2 separate regions of the Homo sapiens genome follow, and region 1 is linked to region 2. The links are contacts of gene promoters, found by promoter capture Hi-C in human tissues and cell types (Jung and others, 2019). All regions are on one chromosome and are shown on one strand. The core of a region is centred on a gene start or on the middle of the fragment in contact, and the rest is flanking DNA. Distances in the headings are between cores, read along the strand shown.

Region 1 (4,955 bases), core at 201-2,700, 130 kb after region 2:
CTTTCTGAAGGTGAGGGTCTCATTTTATCGCCTGTGACTTTTTGCTTGTAACTGGGAGGTTTTACTAAAGGGCATGCCGTTTTCAGACTCTTTTCATACCTAAAAAAAAAAAAAAGGTTTGTCTTTTGAATTCCAAAGGAATATTTGTTCATTAACTAGAAAACTTGTAAAAACTCAGTAAGGGATAAATAATAAAATATAAATCATCATAATTCCTCTATCTAGACAGAGCCACCATTAATGTTCTGGTGTATCTCCTTTTCTTCTTCTCCCACTTTACATAAAAATTGGAATCAAATATATTTAAAGGCCTATGCTGTTTTTCATACCACTCATGTCTGATCATCTCAGTTCTAACATTGCGGTGAAGGTATTCTGCTCTATTCACAAATCTCCTGTTTAGTATCACCTCATGAATCTCTTTAGAATATTTATGCAAATACGTTGTTTTATGAAGAAAAGATACATTTAGCAAATGAACAAGGTCTTGCTGGTTTAAAATGAGCAGGATAATGTTCATTTTAGGAAAGACTCAGAGTAAAGACATTTATTTTTATTATTTTTGGTGAATTTAAGTTATAAACAACTCTCCCTATGCCATTTGCATTTAAAACCTTATTAGACTACCACATCTCTGTGCATTGTCACAGTGGTCATGGTGTAGTGAGGGCTTACATGTTCATTCAGCTCCTTGAATCAGCCAGGAATCTTTGGTTGCAAGCAACAGAAACTGACCTTGGCTAACATAACATGGAAAGTTTACTGGTCAGACATGGGTAGCTCAAAGAACGGAAAGAAAGGCAGAAGAACTGGGCATTAGGGAATATAGAATAGCTCAGAAGATCTAGGTGGCTCGTGCTAAAGGGTGTTCTCTTTTGGGCATTGGTCCCGGAATTAATCTGCACCAACTGTTTTCTGTTACTGGCTCCTCCTCTAAAAGAACACCAGTTCATTCATTCATGCATCACATATTTATTTATTTTTAATAATGTCAGCTTTTATTTTAGATTCAGAGTGTACTTGTGCAAGTTTGTTACATGGGTATATGGCATGATGCTGAGTTTTGAGGTATAAAGGATCATAGTACCCAATAGGTACTTTTTCAGCCCTTATCCCCATCTCCGCTCTACCCACTCTGGTAGTCTCCAGTGTTCATTGTTCCTATCTTTATGTCCATGTGTACCCAGTATTTAGCTCCCACTTACATGTGAGGATAAGTGGTATTTGTTTTTCTGTTCCTGTGCTGTTTGCTTAGGATAATGGCCTCCAGCTGCATCCATGTTGTTACAAAGGATATGACTTAATTCTTCTGTAGGGCTGCATAGTATTCCATAGTGTATATATACTACATTTTCTCTATCCAATCTGCTGTTGATGGGCATCTAGGTTGATTCCATGGCTTTACTATTGAATCATGTATTTATTGAGTGCAAAGCACCGTTTTAGGTTCTCGGTTTAAAACACTGAACAAAACAGATAAAAATTATTGCCATGATGGAGCTTACATTCTAGTTAGAAGAGACTGGCAATATAAATTAACAAACAAAAATGAATAAAACATATAATATGCTACTTGGCAATTCATGTTATGGAGACTAAATGGAGAGGTTGATGCATTTTTTTGTTTGTTTGTTTGTTTTACTTTTTCTATGGGTGATGCAATTTTAAATTGAGTGACTGGTAAAGGCCTGACTTAAAAGTGAGGTTTGAGCCAAGACCCAGAAGACATCTGTGTAGATGTTAGGGATGAGCTTTCCTGGCAGAGGAGACAGTGATGACTTGCTTTTTAAAAGGCTCACTGTGGGCCAGACGCGGTGGCTCACGCCTGTAATCCCAGCACTTTGGGAGGCCAAGGCAGGCAGATCACGAGGTCAGGAGATTGAGACCATCCTGGCTAACGCAGTGAAAGCCCATCTGTACTAAAATACAAAAAAAAAAATTAGCCGGGCATGGTGGCAGGTGCCTGTAATCCCAGCTACTTGGGAGGCTGAGGCAGGAGAATGGCGGGAACCCGGGAGGCAGAGCTTGTAGTGAGCTGAGATCGCCCCACTGCACTCCAGCCTGGGCGACAAAGGGAGACTCTGCCTCAAAAAAAAAAAAGGCTCACCCTGGCTGCTCTGCTGAGAATACACACCCAGGTAGGAGACGATTTGGGCTTGGGCAAGAGTGACCTTGGTGGAGGTGATGAGAGGGATTGGCTCTGGATCTTTTTCGAAGGAATGGTCATTAGGATTTAATGGCAGCTAGGATACGAAGCATGACAGAAAGAGATGAATCAATCATGACTCCCAGGTTTCTTCACCTGAGCAGCTATTAAGATGGAAAAGGCTACGGGAAAGAGCAGTTTTTGGGGGATTCAGAAGCTTGGTTTCGATGTGTTAAATTGCAAGTAGGCAATCAGGGTTCAAGGGAGAGGTCTGTGCTGGAGATATTAATTTGGGAGACATCAGTAAATCATTGGTATTACAACCATGAGGCTGGTTGAGATCAACTTGGGAGTGAGTGTAGATGGAAAAGAGAAAAAGCCCGAGGCAGAGACACAAGGGGAGGAACTGGAAAAGAGGACTGAGGAGAAGTGACCTAACCGACTAGACCATCTTGTATCTTATGGCCATGCCTTAGTCTGTGAATCGGAGCACCATGCTTGATAGTCTCACCAAGATTGCAGGCAATGGTGGAGTTGGTACTTCAAAGCCATTATCAGAAGGAATGGACTTGTGCAGGCATAAACATGTGGCTACCATATTCCTCTTTCTCAAATTTGCTAGCTATGTATTTCGCTCCTTTCACAAAAGTATGTAATGGAAGTAAGTTGCATATGAAGTACTAAGGCACATAATCTGGATTATATGAAGTTACTGGGTCCTTGTGCAAATCCATGCTGTTTAATTTCTTAATAAAAATAAGCTCAAGAATCCCCACTGTCCTTTGAATTCTTGAAACTCTCGAGTGCCAATGATTTGATTGCCAAACTGGAAATTAGACTGTAAACCTTTAAGGCAAGGATTGTGCCTTATTTGTCTCTGTGTCCCTTACCAAACATAGAGCATGGTATAGGTTAGGTATTTAATATATGCTTTTTTCTTAAAAAAAAAAAAAAAAGAGAGGGTCTTCCTATGTTGCTCAGGCTGTACTTGAACTCCTGGGCTTAAGTGATCCTCCTGTTTCAGACTCCTGAATAGCTGGGACTACAGGTGCATTGCCAGCACACCTGGGCAATATATGCTTTTAAAATAAATCAATGCATGAATCATTTGAGACACTTGACACCTTTTATTTCCTTTTTGTTGTTGGGTAGCATATTTATCAGAACTTTTATTTTCAAAATAGAAACCTAGATAAAACCATCTTAAGCAAGAAATGAAATGTATTGGGTCTCATGATTAAAATGTGAGAATGACTTTAGGCATGACTGTATTCAGGTGTCAAGCAATATATTCATATCTATCTCTCACTTTTGACAGTGCTTCATTCGTTAAGGGCACCGTTCTCACACAGGATCTTTCCCCTGCAAGATGTTCACCAGCAGATCCAGATTTACATTGTACCAGCTTAGCAAACCCGGTAGAAAGGAAACATCTTTTCCCAGTAGTTCCTGAAGAAGTTCTCAGACATGGGCCACATGTGTAGCCCTGAATCAATCACTGTGGCCAGGATGATGGAGTCTTCTCTTCGTTGAGTCCTGGTCAAATGTTCTCCTTGAGTACTAGGACCATGAAGTAGGCTCTGCCCAAATTGCATCAACTAAGAAGTGATCCTGCAGGAAAAATAAAGGTGATAATGGCATAAGACAAAGGAATGGATACTGAGCAGGCAGAAGCAACAGATGGCCACTACAGTTATGAAGTATATCATAGGAGCACATGGGAGAAGCAGTCAAATTCCCTGATCCTTCATAGTGTCTTTTTACACAGAAATTGCCACATCTGGTTGTGTTTGGTTTATCCATGGTTTGGAATGAGTCAGGAAATCACAAGCAGTTGTGCTTGAACTTTGTAAACTACAGAACCACTAGGATAGTGCTGAAAATCTGTTTCCCTTCTCTCTCTGCACCTCAGACCTGGGAGAGCAGCTCTAGGCATTGCTTTGCCCCTCTGAAGGCTCACAAGCCTGAGGCAGCCTGGAGCCCTGCCCAGAAGACACCCTGTTAAACACAGAGATGAAGTTATCACTGGCTTGGCAAATTCTTCTCTGGCTGTTTTATGATAATACCATCAGCCAAGGAGATGAAGCAAGGCTTGGCGCTTCAGAACAATGAAGCCCCTTGGTGGAACAGCATAGACCTTGGAAAAAAGAACTTTGAGACCCCTTGGGGGAAGTCACTGTGATTTTGAAGGTGTTTCACTCAGGAAAGGAGCCTGTGATTTGTGAAGCAAGACTAATCTGCTTGTGGGAAGCTGCAGCATGAAATGAGACAAGGTGTGATAACCTGTCAAGTTCCAAAGAGAGATGATTTAGGAGGAGATAGCGGCTTGAAAACGTGAGGATGGGTGTTACTAACTTAATCCATATGATGCCTTCAAAACAAAAAGTATATTAGGGGTGAAAGGCATGGAACAGACATTATTCATTGTCTCCAGGTGATATTTCTCTTGTGAGTTTACAAGCAAGTGTTGGCATGCTGTGTGCAGACATTTGTACAATAGATTACAGCACCCAGATCGCCTCAGATGAAAAGTAGGGGAGACACCTTTGACTTTTTCCCTTCCCTGGTCTAATTTATCTATCTCATTTATTCCAGACAAGGGCTCCTTTACTTTGTGAAAATTAGAGACATCTGTAGTTATACAACCTGAGTTGAGGACAATCAAAGCTCACGCTGCCAGGTGTGAACAGATTGCTTGTAGGGTCAGGAAGGTGCCTCTTTTCCTTCTCCTCCTCCTCCTTTCATGGGCACCATCCACAATCAGGAGATGTTTTCCAGGAGTGAGTGGGGAGGGAGGGAAGAGGAATCC
Region 2 (2,500 bases), core at 1-2,500:
TGCCTGGTCACCGGGGAGGAACTTTACAACATCACTGAAGGTTTGAGAATAGTGCTTCTGGCTGGTCGCGGTAGTTCCTAAGCTGCCTTTGTTCCCACTTCTCTGATCCAGGTTAACTTTTAACATTCTGACAAACTCGGACAAAAGTAACGTTGGGATTACGTCAGGAATTCCCACCCTTCAACAAATATTTGTTGCGGGCCTACTATGTACTCAGTGCAATGATACCCAATTTTGTAGTCTCCTAAACAGATCCTACTCGAGAGGTCTTGATTATTTACAGATGCAGTTAGAAAAGCGCCCATATTATTTTTAATTGAGTTCAAGAAATAGAATGCAGCGTTGAATTAGAAGACTAATTCCTTCTTTTAATATGTTGAAAATTTTTTATCGTTAAACATTTTGTAAAGGATTTTTTGAGGGAGTCGTTAGAAAGTCTATAAATACAACTACGCACACTAAAAAGTAGTCATCTTTTTAAAAATAACTTTGTTTAAATGCATGCTTAGTGTGAATGGATTTACCTAATTCTCTTAATAGCATGCATTTCTGATCTTCCCTACATTAACTGTAATAGCAACTGATATAACAGAAAAATGTAAGTGACTTGTAGTCGACTTGGCCACCTGCCACACGGGCTCGGTGAAGGTTAATGAGGAGCTATTTGGCACTTCGAGAATAGGTGGCACTAGACACAGAAATATCAACAGGCTATTTGTATGCTAACTAGGAGTTTCGGTGCCAGGTAACCATTGATGTACTCTTGCAGGAGAAAGAAGGATGTCGCTGTACGCCCCGAAAGAGAGGCATCATTTTTACGCCCAGTTTGGATTAATGATTGATTGAGTCGCAGAAATGCTTGTGATGCTGATAGAGGCCAATACTGGTCTTTCTGATCTCTTCCTCGTCGTTTATTACCTTCTCTTGTGGACAACGCATTCCTAAGAATGTATCTCTGCTTGTTTCCCAGTCCGCGAGATAAATGGTGACTTCTCTCTTGCAGGCACCGTCATACCTCGGGTTTAGATTCTGGACAGGCGAGCCGGCTGCACCGAAGGCCCGGTAGGCGGACTCTGGCGGAGCGCTTCAGAGAGAAGAGTGTAGACCGCGGGAGGCGGAGGGCTCCCTGCCAGCGTGCCTCGGCCAATCAGTATTCACACCGCCTGACAACCGGCCAATCAGAGGACGTAAAGCTCCGGGGCCTGAGCGGACAGTACTAGGAAGGGGAGCGCAGTCTGCAGACTGAAGCCAGTGGCGCTGCGCTGAATGCAACTGCGCGCGCCCGCCGGGTGAGCCAGCGATCTGAGCCAGGCGGGGGCGGCCCGACCTTTCCCGCCCAGCCTGGGTCAGAGGAAGCCGAAAGCGGCCTCAGCAAGGTGAGGCGCCCGAGGCTGCAGAAGACCGAGCAGAACTTTGCAGAGTTCGGGATGTGCTGGGCTAGGTCGCTGAGGACTTGACTGGCTTCCTCCCTCCTTCCCTCCACCTACCTTCTCCCTCCCCCTCCACCATCCAGTGGGTTCGTTCCGGGCCTCCAGCTATCAGCTCCCGATCTCGTGTTTGAGGGTAGCGACCCCGATTTCTGTTTGCATGCACAGCCAGCAGCCCTAGCGCCAGATCCTAAAGCTGGATATCTTTTAACTGGGCTACCAGCCCGGGCCTCAAAGTTTTGGTGAGTGCTGTGATGCCGCTCGGGGTGTCAGGGAGGGCAAAGGGCGTGAATCATCTTTCACCTTTTCTGTGTGACTTGGATGCCTTACCTTAAATATATAAACCAAGGCCTAAGTACAGAGAGCCCACGCGGCTCAGCCCTGTGCACCTCAGGTACTATTAAGGCTGGACGGGCGTCTGTATTGTGCTCTTTGCCCTTATGGGACGCTAATGACAACAAAATTTTGGTTTTCAGTTGAGTATTTTGGGGAGGGGGGTGAGAGGACCTCTTCAAGCCCAAGGAGGGGTCCTTGTGGTGGTGTAGGCTGATGAGAGGCATTTGGGAAGCATAGAGTGGTACTTCAGTGAGTCTGAAGGGCCACTTGTAATCAAAGGAAAACTGTTCTTCCACGGATAGTTTTATATGCATCATGGCCATACTAGTTGAGTATGGGGAAATCCGACAAGTGGCCTGGGGCTGCCTATTTGGACACAATATTTTGTGTGTGTGTGATAAGTGAGTTACCCAGGGACTTGTCCGGAAAGCCCGTGTAAAGCCAGAGAGGGCCACGGTTAAAGGTCAGGTACTCACAGAGCACTTAGAATTAATAAAATAAAACCTTTGTTGGGTTGTGGATCCCTGGGGGCCCTGGAGATACAGGAAAGGCACGTGTGGCCTGGAAGTGAGGGACATGTAATGAGAACAGGATGACTCAAGCGGCCGGAGGCGGGCAGACCAGGAGCTTTGGGCCGGAGGCTCAGGGATGGTCCCTGACGGCGGCCGGTGGGTCTTTGGATTTCTTTGTGTTTCCCCAGAGTGAGGGCCGCCAGGCTCAGGCCCCAGCGAAGCCCC

Evidence for each region. Contacts are between HindIII fragments. The study calls those that stand out against the background at their distance.
Region 1: a fragment that was not itself captured here is called in contact with the fragment with the promoter of DMRT2 in region 2 in 2 of the 25 tissues and cell types used here (H1 embryonic stem cells and mesendoderm cells).

What each region holds. Positions count from the first base shown.
Region 1 is chr9:1,180,375-1,185,329 of GRCh38, forward strand. No RefSeq gene overlaps it. Among named protein-coding and RNA genes, the nearest start is that of DMRT2, 130 kb to the left of the region's middle. The HindIII fragment of the contact is 5,380 bases long and covers 1-4,140 here.
Region 2 is chr9:1,049,107-1,051,606 of GRCh38, forward strand. DMRT2 (doublesex and mab-3 related transcription factor 2) reads left to right here and starts at 1,251. Exons shown (of 4, transcript NM_181872.6): 1 at 1,251-1,669; 2 at 2,464-2,500. RefSeq lists an enhancer at 1,023-1,892. The HindIII fragment of the contact is 14,990 bases long and covers 1-2,500 here.